Regions from separate parts of the Homo sapiens genome. Here regions 1 and 3 are each linked to region 2. The links are contacts of gene promoters, found by promoter capture Hi-C in human tissues and cell types (Jung and others, 2019). All regions are on one chromosome and are shown on one strand. The core of a region is centred on a gene start or on the middle of the fragment in contact, and the rest is flanking DNA. Distances in the headings are between cores, read along the strand shown. Region 1 overlaps LAMA1 (laminin subunit alpha 1). Region 2 holds the start of TMEM200C (transmembrane protein 200C). Region 3 overlaps ARHGAP28 (Rho GTPase activating protein 28).

Region 1 (4,044 bases), core at 1,355-3,854, 1.1 Mb before region 2:
AGCCAGGCATGGTGGCGCATGCCTGTAGTCCCAGCTATTCAGGAGGCTGAGGCATGAGAATCATTTGAACCCAGGAGGTGCACGTTGCAGTGAGCTGAGGTTAAGGCACTGCACTCCAGCTGGGGCAGCACAACGAGACTTTGTCTCAAAAAAAAAAAGTTGTATGCATCTAACACAAACATAGCATGACACATTTAAGGGTAATCTTTCTATTTGTGATAATTGAATGGATTAATTTTTCTGAGGTGCTTCAACTCCAAATAGGCAACACCAGACCTTTCCCACAGTCATCTATGGGCAGCAGCATGACTTTGTACCAAACATTGAAGGCATTTCCAGGGAATAATGATGGCTCCCAGATAATATATTGTTGTGAAAGACCTTTAGTTATTTACAAAAATCACATCACCCTTTTATTGGATTTAAGTCTTTTTTTTTTTTTTTGAGACAGAGTCTCCCTCTATCACCCAGGCTGGAGTGCAGTGGCGTGATCTCAGCTCACTGCAAGCTCTGCCTCCCAGGATCAAGCGATTCTCCTGCCTCAGCCTCCTGAGTAGCTGGGACTACAGGCACATGCCACCACGCCCGGCTAATTTTGTATTTTTAATAGTTTCACCATATTAGCCAGGATGGTCTCGATCTCTTGACCTCGTGATCCACCCACCTTGGCCTCCCAAAGTGCTGGGATTACAGGCGTGAGCCACTGCGCCCGGCCGGATTTAAATCTTTTAGGAGCCCATCTTCATTGAGATGTGAGATGTATTTGCGAGCGTGTGAGTCACATAACAATCTGTCTATTTGTAGGTTGGAGTCCGTCTCTCTGGACATAGCCAGCTCTAATGCCATCGACCTGGTGGTGGCCGCTGATGTGGAGCACTGTGAATGTCCGCAAGGCTACACAGGGACCTCCTGTGAGGTGACGCTTCTCTCTTCCTGTCTTTTTCCTTTCGTTCCTTCCTAAGGGGAAAACAGTGCACTGAAGGGGATGTCATGGCAAACATTTGATTTTTAGCTTTAGCAGCCCAATGTTTGGCTCAGTCTTTTTTGGGCAATAGAAATATTAGAAGTCACATTGTTTAAAAAAATCAGATTCCTCCACCAGGAATGGGCTGGAGCACCGGACAATATTCTGACTTAGTGCTGCCCTCTTGCCTTAGTCAACAAGAAACTTGCAATACTCATGCCATTGACTGTGTTTCTAAGGAGGATGGAACTTGATCATATCTGAACATTTACAAATCACCAGCATGTGACCTGGGTAGCTTTAGACAAGCCAGCCCTATTTTGAGACCTTTTATGGCCCCTCGCTATTTTACTTTGGTGGGCTCCACCTTACATGTGAAATATATGAAAATGCGCTTGGAATCCTCAATGAAAGTAATCTGTTGCTAAAAATATTTTGAAATCACTTGGACAAACATATTGATATTAATACCATAACAAGAATAGGCCGTAAGACTCATTGCACAACCATTACGTTTTTGTGTGTGTGTTTCTACCTTTAAAAAGAAATAAGGAACTGGATTATGGTGATGGTTGCACAGCTCGGTAAGGTTTTTACTAAAAGTCATTGAATTGTACACTTAAAATGGGTGAATTGTGTAGCATGTAAATGATACCTCAGTTAAGATGTTTAAGAAAAAAGACATTTCTGTACTCTGGCAACTGAGCAGTTTCTGTTTGTAACGTAGTGGAAAGAGGATGACTTTCCCTTCTCTTGCAGTCGTGCCTCTCTGGCTATTACCGCGTGGATGGAATACTCTTTGGAGGAATTTGTCAACCCTGTGAATGCCACGGCCATGCAGCTGAGTGTAATGTTCACGGCGTTTGCATTGTGAGTCTCTCACTGTAGTTCAGGTGCCCTCTCCTCCTCAATTCAGAGCCATTTGCTGTGTACAAGTGATTTTTTTTTAAGTGCTTCCTCCACGGAATAACCCTAGCCTCATAGACCCCAAAGAAAATTTACAGATTTAAGCTCATGTCATGAAATGTTTCCCGTTTTTTTTTTTGTTTTTTTTTTGAAAAAAGTTACTTTGGTAATAGTGGAAAAGGGATATACAACTTCATTATAGTTCTTTTTATTAGATTAATATAAAGTAATTGTTTTTATTTGCTGAGACTATAAAGCAATAGAAAGGTAAAAAAATGTTGTCTACTTATTAAATACAAAGCATAGGATCTTTAGATGACAGTGCTAATATTTATTTATTTATTTATTTGAGACAGGGTCTTACCTTGTCACCCAGGCTGGAGTGTGGTGGCACCAACACTGCTTACTGCAGCCCTGGATCTTCTGGGCTCAAATGGTCCTCCCACCTCAACCCTCCAAGTAGCTGAGGCCACAGACAATGCTAGTATTTTTTTTAAATCATGATATTACATAATATACCCTAAGAAGAAGAATAAAGTATAATCACACTCACTTATATACCATGCTTTATAGTTAGTTGGGATAAATTAATCAAACAGGTACTTCTTTCATGCAATATGAGTTGAAATAGGGCTTAAGAAATAGGTAGTTAATCTTGAGAATGAACTTTGGGGCAGGTGTGGGGCAAGACTTGTTTCTTAACTTCAATCAGGAATTCTTCTAGGCCCTATGCCCTGAAGCCAGGCCACACTCTGGGGTCTCATGGGTTTGATCCTCAGAGGTGGAGTGACTGCATATGCTGATCAGCTGTACCCTGGTCGCCTGGCAGGGAAATGTTCATGCTTTTTCCAAAAGAGATTGACTGAGTCACAGAGTTAGGGAAAATTAATTACCAGACCCAGGGAGAAGATCTTAGAATGATGTCCAGGATGGCTTATGTCCAGGATGGCTTAGAACTTAATTTTTCTTTATTCTGTAAGTAAAACTTTTGTTTTGCCCTTTGTTCTGTAAGTAAAGCTTCTGTAGGAATTGCATGAAGGGGTGGTTTACGGGCAGACTCAGTCCCTCCAGGATTGCTTTCCTCAGGTGCACAGCTTCCAACCGCTTGATGAGGTGGTTGCTTTTTTTTTCACCTCCTTTCCTTTGCCATTTGGGTTTGCAAGGCCTCCTGCCAGCATTTGGGGTGGGGTGGGGTGGGGGGTACAGCAGGCTGTGGTTCTGCCACTTATGTCTTTTGTAGCTAGGCTGAAAGAGTAGATTTCTCATGCTTCCATTAATGTATGTTTACAAATATATATTCACATTAAAGTGATAATGCTAAATAGCAACTGGCCTTAAAGCTTTAATTTTAATAAATAATAATTTTATAGCTTTAAACATGTTTTGGAAATAATTTTAGACTTACAGAAGAGCTATGAAAGAGTTACAGAAGTACAGAGAGTTCTGAAGTAACCTTCCCCCAGCATCCCCTAATGCTACCATCTTGCATAACTAGAGTGGAGTTATCAGAATGAAGAAGTAGCACGATAAGATGAACTACACCCCACATTCTGATTTCATCAGTTTTTCACTCATGCTCCTTTTTTTTGTAGGATCGAACCCAGGACCCCACACCATTCAGTGACTTTGCCTTTTTAGTCTCCTCTCCTCTAGGAAAGTTCCTCAGACTTCCTTGTCCTTCATGACTATGACACTTTTGAAGAGCACTGAGCATTCTGTGGAATGTCCCCCAGCCAGGGCTTGTCTGATGCTTTCTTATGACTAGGTTGAGGTTACACATTTTTGACCAGAAGACGTGGAGGTGCCGTGCCCTCTCATTGAGAGCAGATGGATAGGATATCATTGTGTCTTCTTCCTGGGGATCTTAATCTGGGTCACTTGAATTAGGTGATGTCTGCTAGGTTTTTCCACTCTGAAGTTACTATTTCTCCCTTCTTAATTAATGTTTGAGAGGGCAAAAATAATAAAAATTTAAATTAGAATTTAAGGAAATACAAAAAACGTGGTAGCATCATATATCTGTTAAATCTAACCTTGCTGGTTTTTTTTTTTCTAATATATTGTAAAAACAAGCTTGAATTCTTCCTTTTGTGTAGTTGTTCATAGCCCTGGGCCTTGCGTATAACTATCTAGCTTCCAGGAGTTAATTCTTTATTCACAGTTCATTAGAGATG
Region 2 (3,750 bases), core at 485-2,984:
AATACCAGATTATTATTGGGATTCAGGAGATCTGGAAGTTCAGAGCCAAAAAGGCTTTAGAAAACGACAACTAGATCTTATTATTTTTCCTTTGCAGTGATTTCTCTAAAAGGAAACAACCCAATGTGGGATTTAAAACTTTCCCTTCATTATGGTTTGTTTTCTAATAGCCTGAATCTGAGCATGAATAGGTAGGGGGAAGGCGGTGGGTTCCGGACACCCTGATCATCATTCAGATTCGTTATTTGCTTGAAAAGGGTGACAGAGGCCACCTTTCCAACAGGTGAATGCAGGGTTGCCTTTTAGAAAACACTTCTGCTTCGTTCCCTCCTGTCCCCCACCGTCTCTATCCCCATCTCTTAGATCACTGTTCACATTTATATCATTGAACTTGTAAATTGGTTGTCTTTATTGTTCTTTTTGAAAAGTGTCTGCTCTAGATTTAAGCACAAGTGAATGCTGTGTATGTGGGGAACAATCTTGTAACAGGAGCTGCGGGCAGCAGAGCCCTCCTGTGTGGGTTTTGTGGACCCCTAAGCAGCAAAACTCAGAATATATAACACCCACCACCACCAAAATATTTATCTGGATCCAAAATTTCAGACAGCACTTGCTTCATCTGCTCTTCTGTTCCTTTCTTCCTGAATCCTGGCTGCCTCATTTCAATAGATAAATGAAATCTTTCTCACTTTCTCAATACTCTTTGGGGAAATTCCACTTTGAAATTCTCTTTTCCCTGTCATTTTTACTTTACAGTTGAGAAGACAGGGATGAACTAGGAAACAGGATCTCGATCTCTTTCTCTCTCTCTCTCGCCTTCTCTCTTTTTTAAATGACGTAGGGAGTTTGGACATCCTCCCTACCCCCACCTCCCCTCTCTGATTCCAACCCTGATTCCTGATTCCTGGAGAATTATAGTTTTCCTTTTAATGCTTGCTGATTACCGCACCGGGGAGGAGCAGGAGGGGCTGCCCAAGGAAGAGCCCCGGAGCCCATTCTGATCTCCGAGGAGCCCCAGCTGCCGGGTCCCGGTCAGGCTGGTCACAAAGCCCGGCGGGGCTGGAGCGCGAGCGCATCTGGCAGAGGCTTCCAAGCGTCCCGCGGTGCGCCCGTCCCGGCGGGGGCGGCTCCACTCCGCCCGGGCCCGAGTTCGCTGGGGGACAACTTACTGTGCTTGCCGAGCGTCCACACTGCAAACTCCCAAGCGGGAGGGGGAAGAGAGCCCAGGCTGCGCCGTGCCGAGGAGTAGAGGCAACAAAAGACCGAGGCACGAGGGGAGGGAGGCAGGCACGGAGGGACCGCGGACTCTGGCCCCTAGCTCCCCGAGAGCGCCCCTCGGATGCTGCTGGGGAGACCCTCCGGGCCTCTCTTTGGGGCCTCTGGGGCCCGCGGCTCAGACAGGTAGTTGGAGGAAAGAAGAACAAAGCTGCCCGCGGAGGCAGGCGGCGGTCTCGGGGCGCCCCGGGGCGGGGAGAGCCGAGGCCGAGGAGGCACCCCGCGCCCCCTGCCCCGCGGCCCGAGCGCCCCGTGCCGGCTGCCTCCGCCGCCTCCCCTCACGCCTCCTCCTCCCCGAGGAATCGGCGCTTCCGAAGGGACGGGCGGCGGGCGGCGGAGGACGCGGGGGAGCGGGGAAGGCCGGCGGCGTGGGGGGGGGCGCCGGAGGAGGGGGTGGGGCGGGGGGCGGGGGCGGGGGCGCCCCCCGACTCCGCCGAGCCGGGCGGGCCCCGACCGCCACCCTGCCGCAATTTCCCTGTGTCATGGCTCCGGTCTCTTAGCAACAGCCGCCAGTCCGGCCGCCCCGAGCCGCCGCCGCGGGCTCAACTCCACCCGGCGGAGCCCGGCGCGCCGCAGCCACACAAAAGAGGCGCGAGGGCCGGCGGCGCGGCCGCAGGGGCCCGCCCGGGAGCGCCGCGCTAGGGGACGCCGGGAGCTGGAGGATGAGCGGCGGAGAGGAGGGCTCCGAGGCGGGATGCGGGATGCGGGATGCGGAGGACCTGACACTTCTTGGAAACTCTTGGAAATGGCTCCCGCCACAGCGCCGGCGGGGACTGCGAGCCTGGGGCGGGCGCTCGCCCCCGCGGGGCTGCTGAGTCGCGCTCGGATGCGGGGCCCCGGGGCGCTGTCCCTGCGCTCCGCCGTCGGCTCGGGCTGAAAAAGTTTCTCCATGGTTCCTTTGTGTCGCCCGAGCGCCCGTTCGCCGGCCCCGACCTCCCTCGGTCTCCCTGGGTAAGTGAGCGATCTTGCGTGCGGAGAGTGCTGCCATTTTGAGCAATTCTGCCAGTCCCCAGCCCTTGGGGGCCCCTCCCCGCCCCTCGGGTCCCCGAGTCCCCGCGCCCCGGGCTGGTGTTCGGTGAGAGGCTTTTTCCCGGGCTGGCTACACGGGATGCGCTGCCCAGAAAAAGCTAGTTCAGGATTGCCCTCACTTGGCTCCTGCCTGTCTTCTTTCCAGAGGCGGACTCCCAGCTGCTGCACTCATGTGACTCCAGCTAACATCAATAAGCAGACCAAAGCCAGGGGCCAGGGGGTCGCCGCCCTGCCAGTGAGGGGCCGGGGTCGAGGACCTGGGTTGGGTACCGGGCACAGCACAGCGCTCCCAGCCTGTGGGATCCGAGCCTCCGAGCCTCAGAGTGGGGCTTAATCCATCTTGAGCGGAGAACTTGAATGTCTCTCTTGGAAGCAGTTGTATTTTTAGACATCCCTCCTTTGCTTCCCCCATCCTCCATTCTTTAACCACGGTAAGACCAGCTCCAGGCAGTAAATTGCGAGGGCAGCCAAGCTTGACTGCTAAGTTTGTTTTCTTTCATTAGGTATAAAGGAAAACCTCAAAGGTGGGTCTCCCGTGGCATCTGACCTTTGTCTGTATTTCGTGTCAGATGATGATACATTAAAAGGGAGTACAGCCTTCAACAGAGCTGAAGGAATAATAAACGAGGGAGTTAATTACTAGCTATTAAACTCATTTTAAAGATGTGCGGTAAAGGACTGTTGAAATCCATTCCAACCTTCCTTACATTCTACCGGAGCCAAAGCTGCCTTGCTGAGGAGAAATCCAAGTGGGTTTCCTCCTCCCCCAAGGCATCCAGCCTCCCGGCGCACCTGATCAATGCCCAACAAAACATGTAGCCTTTCTGCGGTGGGAGAGCCACCCTGCCAACTGAGTCTGAGTTCGCTTCTAAAAAATGTCTGGTCCTTAAAGCCTTCTTAAGATAACCACGGATCTCCAGATTATTTAAGATGCTGGACTCCAAGGATCACTTAAAACAACAGTCTCTATGTTACAACCACATAATAAATGTGCTTACTTATTTGGGATTAGAGATAGACAGTAAGCTCTTTTTTTTGTTTGTTTCAATCTGTACTTACTGGTGCAGCTTAAAGGTTTATAGATGTATTCTCTATACTGACCCCTCTCTTATCTACCTGGTGCTTCTCTTTACTGAAACCCAGCTAAGTCCCAAAGAGATATTGATTTGCAAATATTGCAAAGAGCTGATTACCATTTACATTCCCACTGATGGAGAAAAGATCCTGCCTATATTGATATAATGGAGGAACTCAAGGGCCAAAGCCTTTCACCCAATCACCAATTAAAAGCAAAATTCTACCTACCACACATTTTCAAGGGGGAATTTATTCTAAAACATGAATTATCTGATAAAGGATAGAAGAGCAAAAGGCTTGGGCGTGATATCTAAGTCTTTCAGTTCATACAATGTCCTTGATTTTAGCATCTCATAGGAGGGAAAACAA
Region 3 (3,569 bases), core at 961-3,460, 1.0 Mb before region 2:
TCACACTGAAAAGACCGAAGCCAGCCAGGCGCAGTGGCTCACACCTGTAATCCCAGCACCTTGGGAGGCCGAGGCGGGTGGATCACTTGAGGTCAGGAGTTCGAGACCAGCCTGGCCAACATGGTGAAACCCCGTCTCTACTAAAAATATAAAAATTGTCTGGGCGTGGTGGCGGGCATCTGCAATCCCAGCTACTAGGGAGGCTGAGGCAGGAGAATCACTTGAACCCGGGAGGCGGAGGTTGCAGTGAGCCAAGATCACTCCACTGCACTCCAACCTGGGCAACAGAGCAAGATTCTGTCTCAAAAAAAAAAGAAAAGAAAAGAAAAGAAAAGAAAAGCAAAGAAAAGAAAAGAAAAGAAAAGACCCAAGCCTACTCCATATCAACATTAAAATATTCTCATTTAAATTTTGAAAACATTTTAGAAAAGCTGTGCAACTGTTCCCACATGAGATAAAAATATCAGAAACCTACTGATTTTTAGTTTTTATCTGAGAAATTCATAAAACATACCTTTATGATTATAGCAACATATTTCTTTTAGAGTAATCAGAGAATTTAGCAGTAGAAATTATTACAGTATGCTTACCTATATTTCCTCCAATTTCATATAACCTTTGGTTCTGAATCTTAATACATTCTGATGAACCATGACTGAAAAAAATGAGAAAATAATATAATTTTAGTACTTTTTCCTGATCTGAGGTAAAAATGCATGTTAAATAACCAGGCAACAAACAATTCATTCTGCCTTGACGAAATGTGTCCCACAAAACTGTATCATGACTGAAGTTATGATAAAAATAATTGTTTTTCCGTCTGACACAGACAAGAAGCTGAGGCCCAGGGAGGACGGGACTGCTCCCACCAGGATGGGCAGCCGCAGTGCTCCACTACATAGAGCCCATTCAGGCCACAGCTGCCTGCTCCATTTCAGGTTAGTTACTGTTACTGACACATCAAGGCTGGACACGGAGCAGCTGCGTGTTTAGTACTGCCTTGTCATTGGCCATATTACTCTCAATCCAAAAGAAGTCAGGTTTTATTTCTGCATTTGCCAAAAAATTGAATGGAATTATCAGCCCATGTCACATTTCTCAGTTTGCCTCAAGCTTTGCAAGGTGTCTAAGGCTGACTTCATTGCAAGTCTCTGCCCCATAATAAAAGCAAGTCACGGCCGGACACGGTGGCTCATGCCTGTAATTCTAGCATTTTGGGAGGTTGAGGCGGGTGGATCATCTGAGGTCAGGAGTTTGAGACCAGCCTGGGTAACATGGCAAAATCCCATCTCTACTAAAAATACAAAAAATCAGCCGGGCGTGGTGGCATGTGCCTGTAGTTCCAGCTACCCAGGAGGCCGAGGCAGGAGAATTGCTTGAACCCGGGAAGAGGAGGTTGCAGTGGGTGGAGATCGTGCCATTGCACTCCAGCCTGGGCGACAGAGTGAAACTCCATCTCGAAAATAAAATAAAATAAAATAAAATAAAACAAAATAAAATAAACTATAAAATAAAATAAAAGCAAGTCACAGGAAACTATCGCTCAATTTAATTTTTCCACCCTAGACTAGAATGCTGGGTTAGAAGAGTCTGAATGACCATCGCTGACCTCCATCCCCATCAAGGAGTGACTTTCAGCTTGGTTACTTCAAATGATTGTCCTGGCCTCTCCACTGTGAGGAAGATGCAAGTGTGCCCTCTTTTTTTGTTGTTGTTTTTTGTTTAATTGAACTTTCATTTGAGGTGCTGTAGATTCACACGTAGTTTTAAGAAGTAATACAGGTGCATCCTGTGCACCCTACACCGATTTCTCTCAATAGTAACATCTCACAAAACTCTAGTGCAGTATCATGACCAGAATGTTGACACCCATTCAGGGAAGATGCAGAACATTTCCAGCCCCACAAGGCACCCCCTGTTGCCTCTTTATAGCCACATTCACTCCTTCTCCCCATCCTACCCTATCTCCATCCCTCACCCCCAGCAGCACTTCCCTATTCTACATTTCTGTAAGTTGGTCAATTCACAAAGGTTAAACAAATGGAAACACACAGTATGAAACATTTTTGTATTGCCTTTTTTTCCCCACTTGGCATAAATCCCTAGAGATCTACCCAAGTTGCTGCATTTTTATTGCTGAGTAGTATTCCATGGTATAGATGGGCCAGTTTCTGTAGTCACTCACCTGTTGAAGGACACCTAGGCTTTTTTTTTTTTTTTCCAGTTTTTGACTGTACAAATAAAGCTGCTATCAGCATTTGTGAACAGGTTTGTGTGTGAACATGGTCTTCATTTCTTTGGGATAAATGCCCAGGAGTGTCAGTGCTGGGTCATACGGCAGTTGGAGATTTAGTTTTTTAAGAAACTGCCAAACTATTTTATGGAGTGACTGCACTATTGACATTCCCACCAGAAATGAATGAGTGATCCCGTTTCTCTGTATCTTTGCCTGTATTTGGTGTTGTCACTATTTTTTATTTTAGCCATTCTCACAGGTGTGTAGTAATATGCAATTGTGGTTTTAATTTCCATTTCCATAATGGCCAACGATGTTGAACATCTTTTCATGGGCATATTTGCCATTTGTTTATCTCTTTGGTGAAAAGTAATCTGTATCTCCTTAGTAAAGTGTCTGTTCATGTCTTTTGCCCACTTTCAAATTGGATTGTTTGGTTTTTTTAACTGTTGAACTTTGAGTGTTTTATTTATATATTCTAGATACTAGTCCTTTGTTGGATATGTGGTTTTGCAAATATTTCATCCCAGTCCTTAGTTTGTCTTTTCATCCTATTCACATGGTCTTTTAGAGTATAAGTTTTCCATTTTGGTGAGGTCAATTTATCAATTTTATTTCTTATGGGTCACATTTTTTATGTCAAGCTCTAAGAACTCTTTAGTTTTAGATCATAAATGTTTTCTCCTACATTATTTTCTAAGGGTTTTATAGTTTTACACTACACACTTAAGTCTGTGATCCATTTCGAGTTAATTTTTGAATAGGTGTGAGGTTTAGATCGAGGTTTATTTATTTATTTTTTGCCTATGGATGTCCATTGCTACAACACCATTTACTGAAAAGGCTTCCTCCATCAAATTGCTTTTGTAGTTTTCTCAAAATCAGTTGCTGGAATAGTCAAATTCAGAGAGACAGAAAGGAGAAGAATGGTTGCCAGTGGCTAAAGGCAGGGAGAATGGGTATAGAGTCTCAGTGTGGGATGAGAAAAAGATTTTGGGTATGAATGACGGTGATGGTTGCACAACAATGTGAATGTATTTAGTGCTATTGAACTGTCCCTTTGAAATGGTTAAAACATACTTTTATGTTATGTATAGTTTACAATAAAAATCTTTTAAAAATCAGATGGGCCTATTTGTGTAGGTCAATTTCTGGGTTCTGTATTCTATTCCATTGATCTAAGTATCTATCCTTCCACCAATATCATACTATCTTGATTATTCTACCTTTTATATAATCAGCCTTAATATCTAGTAAAGTGATTCCTCCTACTTTATTTTTCTTTTTCAATATATTTTAGTTATTCTAGGGCCTGTGCTTTTCCATATATATT

What was found. Contacts are between HindIII fragments. The study calls those that stand out against the background at their distance.
Region 1: a fragment that was not itself captured here is called in contact with the fragment with the promoter of TMEM200C in region 2 in 1 of the 25 tissues and cell types used here (hippocampus).
Region 3: a fragment that was not itself captured here is called in contact with the fragment with the promoter of TMEM200C in region 2 in 1 of the 25 tissues and cell types used here (dorsolateral prefrontal cortex).

The regions. Positions count from the first base shown.
Region 1 is chr18:7,029,856-7,033,899 of GRCh38, reverse strand. LAMA1 (laminin subunit alpha 1) reads left to right here. Exons shown (of 63, transcript NM_005559.4): 15 at 805-916; 16 at 1,724-1,834. Among named protein-coding and RNA genes, the nearest start is that of LAMA1, 86 kb to the left of the region's middle. The HindIII fragment of the contact is 6,276 bases long and covers 1-4,044 here.
Region 2 is chr18:5,893,506-5,897,255 of GRCh38, reverse strand. TMEM200C (transmembrane protein 200C) reads left to right here and starts at 1,734. Exons shown (of 2, transcript NM_001395400.1): 1 at 1,734-2,226. The region is part of intron 9 of MIR3976HG (MIR3976 host gene); the gene reads right to left. It overlaps LOC121725015 (a long non-coding RNA gene), which reads right to left and starts at 1,529. Exons shown (of 3, transcript NR_172505.1): 1 at 1,170-1,529. The HindIII fragment of the contact is 12,914 bases long and covers 1-3,750 here.
Region 3 is chr18:6,906,046-6,909,614 of GRCh38, reverse strand. ARHGAP28 (Rho GTPase activating protein 28) reads right to left here. Exons shown (of 18, transcript NM_001366230.1): 17 at 591-655. Among named protein-coding and RNA genes, the nearest start is that of LINC00668, 22 kb to the left of the region's middle. The HindIII fragment of the contact is 3,706 bases long and covers 358-3,569 here.